2 separate regions of the Homo sapiens genome follow, and region 2 is linked to region 1. Evidence: promoter capture Hi-C in human tissues and cell types (Jung and others, 2019). All regions are on one chromosome and are shown on one strand. The core of a region is centred on a gene start or on the middle of the fragment in contact, and the rest is flanking DNA. Distances in the headings are between cores, read along the strand shown. Region 1 holds the start of METAP1 (methionyl aminopeptidase 1). Region 2 has its middle 59 kb from the start of LINC01216.

Region 1 (6,907 bases), core at 1,694-4,193:
CTGCAGACCTTCATGGTGAGTCTTACACCTCATAAATGCAGTGTGGACCCAAAGAGTGAGCAGTAGCAAGACTTATAGCAAAGAGTGAAAGAACAAAGCTTCCACGGTGCAGAAAGTAACCCCCATGGGTTCCCACTGCTAGCTTGGGCAGCCTGCTTTTATTCCCTTAACTGGCCCCACCCACATCCTGCTGATTGGTCCATTTTACAGAGAGCTGATTGGTCCATTTTGACAGGTTGCTGATTGGTGCGTGTACAAACCTTGAACTAGACACAAAAGTTCTCCAAGTTCCCACTAGATTAGCTAGACACAGAGCACTGATTGGTGCATTTACAAACCTTGAGCTAGACACATGATGCTTATTGGTGCATTTACAAACCTTGCACTAGATACAGAGTGCTGATTGGTGTATTCACAATCCCTTAGCTAGACATAAAGATTCTCCAAGTCCCCACCAGATTAGCTAGATACAGAGTGTGGATTGGTGCATCCACAAACCCTGAGCTAGACACAGGGTGCTGATTGGTGTGTTTACAAACCTTGAGCTAGATACGAGTGCTGATTGGTGTATTTACAATCCCTTAGCTAGACATAAAGGTTCTCCAAGTCCCCACTAGACTCAGGAGCCCAGCTGGCTACACCCAGTGGTTCCCGCACTGGGGCCGCAGGTGGAGCTGTCTGCCAGTCCCGAGCTGTAAGCCCACACTCCTGAGCCCTTGGGTGGTCCATGGGACCGGGTGCCCTGGAGCAGGGGGTGGCCCTCGTGGGGAGGCTTGGGCCACGTGGGCAGGAGCCCACGGTGGGGCCGGGGGAGGCTCAGGCATGGCGGGCTGCAGGTCCTGAGCCCTGCCCCGTGGGGAGGCAGGTAAGCCCCGGCAAGAAATCCAGCACAGCACTGGTGGGCCGGCACTGCTGGGGGACCCGGCGCACCCTCCGCAGCTGCTGGCCCAGGTGCTAAGCCCCTCACTGCCCGAGGCCGGCGGGGCCGGCCGGCCGCTCTGAGTGCGGGCCGCCAAGCCCACGCCCACCTGGAACTCTAGCTGGCCCGCAAGCGACGCACGCAGCCGCAGTTGCCACCCGTGCCTCTGCCACCACACCTACCACAAGCTGAGGGAACCGTCTCTGGCCTCGGCCAGCCCAGAGAAGGGCTCCCACGGTGCAGCGGCGGCTGAAGGGCTCCTCAAGCACGGCCAGAATGGGAGCTGAGGCCAGGAGGCACCGAGAGCAAGCAAGGGCTGCGAGGGCTGCCAGCATGCTGTCACCTCGCTGTCACCTCTCACTGTGAGCACCACTGCACTCCAGCCTGGTTGACAGGATGAGATGCTGTCTCAAAGAAAAACCAAACGACAAACAAAAAGTTGACATCATAGTAACTGAAGAAATCAGGTAAGTAAATTACTTTATATGGTATGGTGCAGTTTTTATTTAAAAAATATTTTATACATACATACATACTTATTGATTTTTTTCTTGTATACAAAAGTATATGTATGTATGCATGTAAACATTTCTATTACTTGATTTTATTACATCATTTTTACTGCTTATATTGCAAAACTAAGTTTTTTTTTTTTTGAGACATGGTCTTGCTCTGCCGTTTGGGCTGGAGTGCAGTGGCAGGATCATAGCTTACCATATCCTTGACTTCTCAGGTTCAACAGATCCTCCCAGCTCAGCCTCCTCAGTAGCTGGGACTACAGGCGCCTGCCACCATGCCCGGCTAATTTTTTAGTTTTTAGTTTTAGTTTTTGTAGAGACGGGGTTTTGCCATATTTCCACCCTGGTCTCGAACTCCTGGCCTCAAAGAATCCGCTGGCCTTGGTGCCCTGGATGCCCTGGCCTCTCAAAGTGCTGGGATTGATTACAGGCGTCAGCCACCGCTCCTAGCCAAAACAAAGTTCTTAAAAATAAAAGTAGTATGAGCTTTTCTGGTGTATTAAGTACGGAGAAGTTAAAAAAATACAATAACAAAGTTCACAGCCTTTTGTGATCAGTAAATGTTAGTTTTTCGCTCTTCCCTAGTGACAAGGAGGCACTCAAGCATGAGTTACAACACAACCGACCTGGAATACAGCTGAAAAGATTGAAGCAACAGGTTCGCAGGGGAAGGCCTTTACAGCTTCTTTCGACTCTGACATTTCAGGATCAGCACAATTCTCCCCTATTTACTGCTGAAGCAATCAACTGGGATTATACAAAAAAATTATTTGTATTGAATACCTGACAGTTGTGTTACTATTACTAGCACTATCGGTTTTGAAGGGGAGGTGGTGGTGTGTGGAAAAAAAAAGTCTGGCAGGAGGGAGGGCAGATGTGAATCCCAGCCCACCGTCCCGTTGACAGCTCTATGGCTCTCCTTTCTGTGAATGAGCGGTGGTCCTTAGGCCTCAGACCCGACAATGTCAGTGAGAAACAGAACTTAACCCAAGGGACTGTTCTCCAAGGAGCGGCGGGGGAATCCAACGCAGAGGAGCGCAGCGCCCTCTCTAGCCTCCTGCGGGTGTCGGGGATGATCAGGGCTCCTGGGTGTTCGTCAGTGAAGACGACTGTCTTATCTGACTGTAGGCACAGAGAGTGCGCCGCGAGAGGGCGGCTCCTCACCGTCAGGCGCCGGCAGGTCGCGTTCTCTGCTGGCCGACGCCCGAAGGCGCCGAATGGGGGGGCCCTGCCGAGCTCCCTTACAGCCCCAATGTGCGCGCCGCCGGGAGGCTTGGGCACGCAGGCACCGCCGGCGGGGGGCGGGGCGAAGCCGGCGGGGCGGGGCACCAGCTGCGCGCGCGGGGCGGGGGCGGGGCCGGGGCGGGGCGCGCTGCGTGGTCCCGGCCGGCCCTGGCTCCTCCCCCTCCCGCGCCCAGGCCAGCGGCGGGCCCAGCTCCTCCCCCGACTCGGTCTCTCTCCCCTCCCCTCCGCCCGGCAGTTCCTCCCTCCCGCCGCCGCCTCTTCCTCGGTGAGGCGCTCTTCCAGCGGGCAGGCAGCATGGCGGCCGTGGAGACGCGGGTGTGCGAGACAGACGGCTGCAGCAGTGAGGCCAAGCTCCAGTGTCCCACTTGCATCAAGCTGGGCATCCAGGGCTCGTACTTCTGCTCGCAGGTAGGCGCCCGCTGCCCCGCGGATATGCCGCCGCTGCGGGACCCCTCCTCGCTTCTCCCCTGCTGGCTCCTCCCGCCCTTGCGGCGAGTCGGGACGCGCTCCTCCTCTTCCCCCCGGCCGCGTTTCCTCCTCCCCCCACCCGCGTCGCCACCGCCCCCTCCTGCCTCCTGGGGTCCCTGGGTCCTCGGGAACCGCGCTGGGCTCACGCGGGGGCGGGGGCGCCACCCGCCGCGGCCATGTGGGCTGGGGCGGAAGCGGGCTGTGCGGGGTCGCGTGGCCGCGCTAGACCTCCGCGTTCTGGGGCCGGTTCCCCGCGCTGGGGCGGGGGCCGCCAGGTGTGCGGGCTGCCGGAGGCAGGTAGCGGCGCCGGGAAGGAGGGCAGCCCGAGCGTCGCGAGCCTCCACATCCGCAGCACCGGCGGGGCTCGGGTCTGGGCGCTGGAGGCGCCGGGCCGTCCGTCGGGTCCCTGCGGGGTGGGGGGCTGAAGCTACCTGCCGGGCTCTGAGAGATGGGTGGCCCGAGGACCGTCGGAGTCGCAGAGAGGAGGAACGCTAGCTAGCTCCAGCCCCACTTCTTTGTGCTTTACTACCGTGCTTTGACACTTAAGCAACTTTGGGGGTGGGGAAGGGAGAGGTCTGTGTAATTCATTCTTTTCTTTCGGTATATAAAATTATTAATTTACAAAACTGTAAGCTAACGGGATGAGTCACCTGTGACTGAATTTCCCAGAGTGAAAAGGACAGTTCCATTGAGGGTTAGGCGTGAATGCTGTAGTGTATTTTAAGTTTTGTGCAGTAGAGCAAACCCAGCGTTGAATGGGGTCCAGACTGAAGCGTGTGCTCGTGTTTCTGTTTACTGAAGAGTACTAGTGTTGCTGCTGCATTTCGAGACCCAGGATGAGGGCTGGGCGGCAATAGTATGGCTCTTAGTTACAGTCCAGGTTTAGTGAAGAGAGGCACATGAATATTCAAATATTAAATTGGTAGCGTCCTGTGGGGAGGAGAGCCGGAATAAAGAGAAGGCCTGATTGGGGCCCTGCCCTTGCCAGTTATTGTGCGATCTTGAATTAGTAAAGTTACTTAATCTTTCTGAGTTCCAGTGTTACACTGTACAGAGGGGATGATTATAGCTTTCTTTGTAAGTTTCACAAGCTTCTTCTGAGACCCAGATTATCCAAGGAACGTGAAATGCTGTTATAATGTAAAGTCCTTTATTTTTTAAAGGATTCTAGTACGATTTAACTCTGCCATAAATAAAAATATGAATAAGAATGAAGGCAGATATATGAACACAATACAAATAATAAAAGTGTTTTCCAACATAAAACATAAAAACGTAAAGATATAAATAAATACAATCTTTACGTCACAATATTTGTAGATAAGCGATTGCAAAAGGTCTTAGCTGTGTTATACAGTCTTGTTTTTAGATAGGATATGATCCTTGACCTTGTTAGTATAATTTGGAAAAACTTGCACGTGGAGGAGTGTTGCTTGATCTAAAAATAGCATTACCGAACAATCTAAAGGACCTGTACTAGGTTTAACATGTTGAGCATTACTCATGTTAGACCTAGTACACGTCCTTTAGATTCTTTAAAATTCCCAAATTCTATCTTGTTGTGGCCTGTGTGGGACCTGAAATTAAGAAACAGTGTTTGCTTTTGACAGTTGTACCATCTGAGTAGAATAACTTTAAAAGTAGGTGGCATTTTGAATTAATATGTATTACAATCTTCTGTTAAGATTTTAAAAAGGTAGTGTGAAACCACATTCATGAAACAGGTAGAAAGAAGGTGAATCACTGGGGTTTGTGGAAAAATGCTAGACAAATTTGTGAAAACAAAACATCTAGGGTTTATTCCGTGTGTTAGGATTGGAGGTATTTACATGTTGGATTCTGCAGGTATATTTCTGGTATCACTGTTAGACATGCACTCAAATATTCCCAGAGTGGCTGTCCCAACTGTCTCTTTTTCTTCATTTCTGTTACCACCTCCTATGGTCAGCTTTTAAAATTTCCCACCAAATCAGTTGTCATACTCTCTTAATTTATTTCTCTACTGTAATTCCTCCCCTTGCAAACAAACGCCCACAAAAAACCCTATCAAACAAAACCTTTTGTACAGAAGTTATTTTTCCCGCAGTCTGATTATGCGTATCCCTCATTGCTTTCAGGATTCCAGCCCCACATTCAGGGCCCCTCTTCTGAGCCTCTTGCTCTAGCCAAAGGCTATGTTTACATTCTTTCCTTTCCGAAGTGTCACCTGTCTTCTGAAATCACAGCTGTTCCCCCAATCCCAGCTTGAGACCTTGATCAAGTCACTGTAACTTATTCTAAGCGCTTTATACATCTGTGATGAAATATGGGCTTGGCTGGGCATGGTGGCTCACACCTGTAATCTCAGCACTTTGGGAGGCCTAGGCGGGTGGATCACCTGAGGTCAGGAGTTTGAGACCAGACTGGGCAACATGTCAAAACCCTGTCTCTACTAAAAATACAAAAATTAGCTGGGCGTGGTGGCACACGCCTGTAGTCCCAGCTACTCAGGAGGCTGAGACACAAGAATCACTTGAACCTGGGTGGTGGAGGTTGCAGTGAGCCGAGGTTGCACCACTGCACTCTATCCTGGGCAACAGAGCAAGACTCCGTCTCAAGAAAAAAACAAAAACAAAACAAAACAAAAAACCAAAAAGAAGAAATTAGGGATTTTCCTTAACACTTCTGTGATCACTAGGAGGTCTTTCTTTCTACTGCTCTGGTCCCTGGCCTGGCTGTCTGGCCAGCTTGTCTTTGGGAACAAACAGAACAAAACTGCAAGAGGCCTTTCTATCACACCATTAACAGAAGTAAGGCATTCCCAGTTACTCTGTCACACCACCTTGTTTATTCCTTTATGACCTTTTGTGCAATCTATGATTACCTCACCTGTTAGAAAAATGAGGATTTTTTTTTTTTTTGAGACGGAGTTTCGCTTTTGTTGCCCAGGCTGGAGTGCAATGGTGCGATCTCGACTCACCGCAACCTCCGCCTCCCAGGTTCAAGCAGTTCTCCTGCCTCAGCCTCGCAAGTAGATGGAATTACAGGCATGCACCACCACGCTCAGCTAATTTTGTATTTTTAGCAGAGATGGGGTTTCTCCATGTTGAGGCTGGTCTCGAACTGCTGACCTCAGGTGATCCACCCTCCTTGGCCTCCCAAAGTGCTGGGATTACAGGCGTGAGCCACCATGCCCGGCCGAGAATGTCTGTTTTTTAGTCGGAAGGTGAACTTCATGAATGATCCTATCTTGTTCACTGCCCTGTTCTCATTTCCCAGTATGATGCTCTGTATGCAGTAGGTGGCCATTAAATGTTTGAATTAATGGATAAATGCATCAAAATAGAGAGGTATACTGCTGTGTTTGAATCACAGCTCCATCATTTACTAGTTATGTGACTTGGGCAAATAACCTCTCTTTTTCAGCTGTATCTTTTTAAAATGGGGCTATTAATAATACCTATCTCAGGGTTTTGATGAAGACTAAATCCAAAGTATGTAAAGCTCTTAGCATATTAGTAAACTTAATGAATGTTAGCTCTTTTTATTGTTATACTGTTTTATGTTTAGGAAAGTAGAAATATTTTATCTAGGATGCTTAATTTTTTTTTTTTTTTTTTTTGAGACCGAGTCTTGCTCTGTCACCCAGGCTGGAGTGCAGTGGTGTGATCTCGGCTCACTGCAACCTCTGCCTCCCGGGTTCAAGCGATTCTGCTGCTTCAGCCTCCCCAGTAGCTGAGATTACAGGTGCGCACCACCACGCCTGGCTAATTTTTTT
Region 2 (6,907 bases), core at 1,108-3,607, 1.6 Mb after region 1:
AATGGCATGAACCTGGGAGGTGGGGAGCTTGCAGTGAGCCGAAATCATGCCACTGCACTCCAGCCTGGGCAACAGAGCAAGATTTGTCTCAAAAAAAAAAAAAAAAGTGTTATTCAATTTCCACATATTTGTAAATTTTCTGTTTTTCCTCTCCTGTTACTGATTTCAAGTTTCAAACCATTGTGTTCAGAAAAGATACTTGGTAAAATTTCAATCATATTAAAATTGTTAAGACTTATTTTCTGGCCTAATATATAATCTATCCTGGAAAATATTTCATGTGGGCTTGAAAAAAATGTATATTTTTCTGTTGTGGAATAAATGTTCTGTTTATGTCCATTAGGTTCAGTTGGTGTATAGTATTGTTCAACTTTCCTATTTCCTTATTAATTTTTGGTCCGGATAATCAATCTTTTGTTGAAAGTAGGGTATTGAAGTCCCCTACTATTATTGCATTACTAGCAATTTTTTTCTTCAGATATTTATTTTATATATTTAAGTACTCCAATGTTGGGCACATGCATATTTATAATTATTCTATTCTCTTGATGAATTGACCCCTTTATCATTACATAATGACCTTTTTTGTCTCTTTTTGACAAAACAGACCTTAAGTATAGCTACCCGTGTACTCTTTTGGTTTCCATTTGCATGAAATATCTTTTCCCATTCCTTCATCCTCAACCTATGTGTGCTGTTAAAGCTGAAGCAAATCTTTTGTAGGCAGCATATAGTTGGGTCTTTTATTTTATTTTGATGCAGTTTCAGAGAGACTGCCTTTTGAGGCAGACCTGGATCCTGGTGTCTCAGGGGCTGGACTGGAGCCTGTCTGTGAATGCTCACAGTGCCAGGGTTCACTGGGACAGGCCTGGGGCTGGGGTCTGCAGTGAAGTTGGGTCTTCACTTCACTCTTCTTCTCATATACAAAGGGCATCTCTCTCCATACTGTGATGCCAGGACGTGGGGGAGTGGTGTAACAGGTAATGTGAAACTGTCCTTCCTACCTTTTCAATGTGTCTTTTCTTATTTCTGTGCTCCACCCAGGTGCTGTAAACTCTCACTTGGATTACTTAGCCTTTGTGAAAGTATTTTTATGTGTGGATAGTTGTTCAAATTGATGTTTTTGTAAGGAAATGAGCTCTGAAAACTCCTCTTCCACCACCTTGTTGACATCATTCCTTCATAGTTGTTTTATACTCTGTGTCAGATAATTTCAATAGAAGTGTTTGTGAGTTTATTTTTATTCCTTGTTTTTTTGTTTTTCATTCACAGCGGATACCTTGTTTCTCCATGTGTGCTTTGTTTGCTTTGACAGAAAATTATTTGTAAAATTATTTGGAAGTATAATTTGAGGTTCCGGATAATTATACATGCTGCTAGAGAGGATCTTTGTGGCTTCTTCCAGGCCTTTAGGAGGGTACCGATTCAGGATCAACTTATGTTCAAATCTTATGCTGTGGTAACCAAATGATGGAAGTTGCCTGGAACAAAGATTGATTTACTTCTGGTTTGCCCTTACTCTGAGAATATAGTTCTTTACAGTCTCATCTCAGAGTAGTTGTATAGGGGTGTTTCAAAATCTTTATCTTGGTAACCCCTAGGCTTCCCCCAATACCCACCCACCCTCCAACTCCATATCTTCCACCCACCCCCCCAACCCCACTACACCCCCAGAAGCTTACCAAGCTAGTAAAACCATAGTTGAGTTTCACAGCTGATACTTCCAACTTCAGGGCAAAACACATTTGAACTCTTGGCTTCCCTCTCTAATTTCTTGACTTTTCTTAGGTTTGGGGTGAGTAATTTTTTTTTTTTTTTTTTTTCTGAGACACAGTCTTGCTCTGTTTCCCAGGCTGGAGTGCAGTGGGAGAGATCTCAACTCACTGCAACCTCCACCTCCCGGGTTCAAGCGATTCTCCCACCTCAGCCTCCCAAGTAGCTGGGATTATAGTCACCTGCCATCATGCCCGGCTAATTTTTGTATTTTTGTAGAGATGGGATTTCCCTATGTTGGCCAGATTGGTCTTGAACTCCTGACCTCAGGTGATCTGCCCGCCTCGGCCTCCCAAAGTGCTGGGATTACAGGCGTGAGCCACTGTGCCTGGCCGAGGGTGGATACATGTTTTTCTTAATTTTGGATGGCCAAATGTAACTTATCAACAGTTTTTTGTTTGTTTTCAGGGTTTTTATTTGCTTATTTTGGCTTTCATATTAACATTTCCTTCAGCTCTTTCAGCTATCTTCAGCAGGAGGATTTGGTTCTAATTGCCCAGCTTACTATTACCAAGGTGAAATCTCTTTTACGCTATAGTTGACAAAGAATCATTTACCAAATTTAAAGACATTTAAGTAATTATTTGTTCTATTGGATCGATTTTCTCCTCAAAGACTCGTTATTTATATTCTTAGAACTTAATATGGGGATTACAAACAAAAGGATCCTTTTTCTTTCCTTAAGAACACAGTTTGAAGGAAAAAGCAATGCCCATTTTTCTGGCTAAAAAACTCAGTAATGATTTTCAGTACATTTGAAAATTCATATTGAACTCTAAGTATTTTTGTGCATGTGTTTTGCTATTTAATCGGTAGTAGCTGAAAAAAAATCCAATGGTTGCTATTATTTGTTAATACATTTCTCTCTGTAATATTTTTTATTGAAAAACTATGACTATTTCTATTTAATGCTAATTCATATTTGTATCTGTCACTTCAAATGTGAAAAATGTCAGAGTGCTAGATAAAGCATTAAAATCATATTAGTATTTGTTATATAGCTTTGCAGAATTCTCAGTGTTTTGCTTTCCATCTTTGTAGATTTTTAAATATTTTTCTAATTTTCTTCATTGAATTTGTATTACTTTTATAAGCAACTTTATTTTAAGTGTATTGGCTTTGTACACAACTATATTACCATGACCACAACTATGTAAGCAGAAAATAAAATTTGGAAAACAAAAACTACAAATATTACCACTGCTTAACTCTACATTGTGGGAATAGTAGTGCATATTTAAATACTTTCATGTTTCCAGATTTGTCTAAATGCACTTATTACTCCTTTAATTTACAATAATAACTAACCAAAAATACATACAGAGCTATATGTACAATAACAATATATTTACAATTGTGCTTTAGGAAATTTTCTTTAATTTACAAGGGCATGGGAAGGAGTTACCTCAGATAATCTTTCAAAACTGTGACATTATTTTATTTCAGAAGTATTGATTGCCAAAGGTACTGTGTGACTGCTGCATTGAAAAGGAAGTTCAGATACAAGATGCAGGGTAAAGATAGCTTTAGCAACACATGACAAATTCTTAAATTTAAATAGGAAGAGGGATTAAAATTCTAAGGCGGCTTGAGGATAGGATGGCCATTCTAAGATAGGAATATGAAAAGTTGAGGCAGATTGGAAGGGTTGTGACTAGACCACACTTTGAATACTATTTATTTTTTAAGTTGTTTACTATTTCCAGGTGGAAAGAATTCATTAACCAGAACCCCTATTTTACACAAATAGTTGAATTCATTTGCTAGGGCTGTTATAACAAAGTACCACAGACTGGGTGGCTTAAACAACAGAACTTTATTTTTTCACAGTTCTAGAGGCTGGAAAGCCAAGATCAAGGTGTCAGTTGGGTGTGGTTTCTTCTGCAGCCTCTCTCTTTGGCTTGTAGATGGCTGCCTTCTCCCTTTGTCTTCACATGGTCCTACCTCTGTGTGTGTGCATCCCAGTTATCTCTTTGTGTGTCCAAATTTACTCTTCTTTTAAGGACACTCCTAGGACCAGTCTTAACACTCTCATTTTAACTTAATGACCTCTTTGAAAATCTTATCTTTAAATACTGTCACACTCTAAGATATTAAAGATTAGGGTTTCAACATATGAATTTGGGAAAGGGGACACAAGCCCATAACATTCACCTTCTGGACCTCCACAATTAACATCCTTCTCACGTGAAAAATACATTCTCCCCCCCACTGCCAATTCCAACAGCCCAAAAGTCTCAAACCATTCCAACATCAATGCTAAATCCCAAATCTTATCTAAATATTATCTAAATTACTTGTGTATGAAACTGCAGATATTATTTATTCTGAGAAAAAATTCCTCTCTGGCTGTGAACCTGTAAAACTAGACAACTTACCTGCATCCAAAATTCAGTGGGTGGGACAGGCATAAGATAAGTATTCACATTCTGAAAGGGAAAAATCAGGAAAAAGGAAGAGGTCACTAGTTCCAAGCAAACTCAAAACTAGCAAGGCAAATTCCATCAAATTTTCAGGCCCAAGAATAATCCTCTTTAGCTCGATCTGTCCTCCAGGCTCACCAGGGTAGTAACCTTACCTATTGGGCCCACTGAGGTGACAACAGCGCCTCCATGGCACTGGGTAGCAGCTGTGCCCTCTGAAACCCAGGAGGAGACAGCTCACCACACAGTACTAAAGTAGGAGTGGCAGCCTTGCTGATCTCAACATTGTCTTCAAGGTCATTCTTTCCTCTTCCTAAAGGATAATGCCTATCTGCAGCCAGATAGCTCTATTATCCCATCCTATAGAATCCAGGAAGTCCATTAGCTTTTCTTCATTTTGTTCCAACTCTATCCCTTTTAGTTCCAGCTGGTAGTGTTTTTTCTGTTATTAACCCACCTCTATTCCTCATTTTGGCTGAGACAGCTGATTAGATCCACGAGTGAGACCTCTAATCTTTTTATCAAATGATTATTCAGCCACATCCTTGGTGTTCGGTCCAGATCATGCTTAACTTTGTAATATGGATAGGGTGATAATTTTCCACGTCTTTTAGTTTTGATTACTTTTTGCTTAATGATTTTGTTTTCAATTTATGTCTCTCCTCTTGTATTTACAATATGCTGTAAGAAGAAATCAGTACCCTCATTACTTTACACCTTCAATACTTTGCCTAGAAATCTTTTTAGCTAAATACCCTAGTTCAACACTTATAAATTCTAGCTTCCATAAAACACTAGAACACATTACAGCGAAGTTCTTTGCCACTCACTCTATAACAACAGTTTTCTTTCCTCTGGTATCCAATAACTTCCTCATTTCCATTTGAGGCTCACCAGAGGCACCTTTAGCATTCATAGTTCTACTAATAATTTCCCCAAGGCAATCTGGGCTTTTTCTAATATGCACCTAAAAAACTCTTCCAGCCTTCATCTGTTACCCAGTTCCAAAGCCACTTTCACATTTTTAGGTATTTGTTACAGCAGCACCACACTTTCCGGTACCAAAATCTATATTAATTTGCTAGGGCTGCCATAGCAGAGGATCACAGACACCTGTCACAGGTGTGACAACAGAAATTTATTTTTGCACTGTCCTGGAGGCTGAGATCAAGGGGTTGGCGTGCTTGGTTTCTTCAGAGGCCCCTCTCTTTGGCTTGCAGAGGATCTCCTTGCTGTTTCCTCACATATTCTTTCCTCTGGGTGTATACATCCCTGGTGTCTTTTGTGTGTCCAGACTTTCCCTTCTCTTAAGAATACCAGTCAAATTGGATTAGGGCCCTCCCTAATGGCCTAATTTTAGCTTAATCACCTCTTCAAAAGCCCTATCCCCAAAAGTCACATTTTGTGGTACTAAGGGTTAGAGCTTTAATATGTGAATTTTGGGAACACACAATTCAGCCTATAACAAAGGTAAATTTGATATACAAAAAAACTTTAAATAAATACTTGTATTCCCAACAGCTTTTCAGATATATTTTAATAGATTTTATATGTTCAAAAAAATATATAAGGAAAATTTAAAACTAGCTCTTTGGAAAATTCTCATGATTTAAACCAAATGACAAGAATAGAAAACGATAACTAAACTACATTCTCAATTTTCTTTAACATACTTAGACACATATTTTTATGTACAAAGTAACAGAAAATATGAAAATAACAGTGATTATCACAAATTGATGAAATGACAGAGTACTTTTTTATTCTCCCTTATATTTTTCATGTTTTTTGGAATTATCTCACTGAGACATATCACTTATGTATTTAAATATATATATTTATATATAATTATTAAAGAGAGAGAGATTTCTATCAGTATGAATCTTTGGTTGCAATCAACAGAAAACAACTTTGTATGATTTAGGCAAGAAAAGAACTTGTAAGAAGGCTATTCTGGTGCTTTAAAATTATAGAAGCTGCTAAACTACCAAGTTATACAAAGGTCTGGAGTTAGGGCAGCCCTGGGGAACTTGCTAACAGGAGCTGACTGGCAATTTTGCCAATGAGTTACAGCTGAGATGACTGATTTCTGATTGAATTTTCGATCATGACATGCCATTCTGTTCCAGATTTAGAGTCCTAGGAAGGGAACTGAATTTGGCTGACTTGAGTTTTACGCTCAGTTTTGGTGGTTGGGGGGACATTTTGGCTGACAGTTCCATTAAGATAGACACTTATTCAGAAGAGAGAATCCGCAAAATGAAATCAGAGTGAAGTTACCAAGGAAAGGGAGATCTACAACAATACATCATCGTACAGTAGCACTGTATGGCCTATTATATACGATATCTTCATCAATATTTTGTTTCATTTGAATATCTGCCATCAAAGATGAATTCTATTTAAGTATTTATCAGACATTTGAATCATTAAAAGTGTGTATATCATAGAGATTCTCTGCATTATTTCTTTTCTGAATCTATAATAATCTCAAAATAAGAAGCTGTAAAGTGTCATATATTGTTTCTTGTTTTCTTACTCATTTAAAAATTATAACCTAAAATTTTTATGCTGTTTTCTGTTTAACCAAAATCAGATTCCACTCTTGGTGAGTTGATCAGGGTGTCAAGGTGGCAGTTTTAATAGTTTCACTTTTCCTTACAAGTTATTAGTACTACCCTCAAGGCACATCTTTAAATGGCCTGCAACTT

Evidence for each region. The method cuts DNA at HindIII sites, captures the fragments that hold promoters and counts their contacts. A contact is called where the count stands out against the background at its distance.
Region 2: a contact is called between a fragment that was not itself captured here and the fragment with the promoter of METAP1 in region 1, in 1 of the 25 tissues and cell types used here (heart right ventricle).

Annotation. Positions count from the first base shown.
Region 1 is chr4:98,992,778-98,999,684 of GRCh38, forward strand. METAP1 (methionyl aminopeptidase 1) reads left to right here and starts at 2,944. Exons shown (of 11, transcript NM_015143.3): 1 at 2,944-3,090. The coding sequence starts at 2,977. It overlaps MIR3684 (microRNA 3684), which reads left to right and starts at 4,610; the gene lies at 4,610-4,683. RefSeq lists enhancers at 2,386-2,435, 3,357-4,139 and silencers at 2,676-2,995, 3,156-3,615. The HindIII fragment of the contact is 14,445 bases long and covers 1-5,648 here.
Region 2 is chr4:100,612,768-100,619,674 of GRCh38, forward strand. No RefSeq gene overlaps it. Among named protein-coding and RNA genes, the nearest start is that of LINC01216, 59 kb to the right of the region's middle. The HindIII fragment of the contact is 4,379 bases long and covers 169-4,547 here.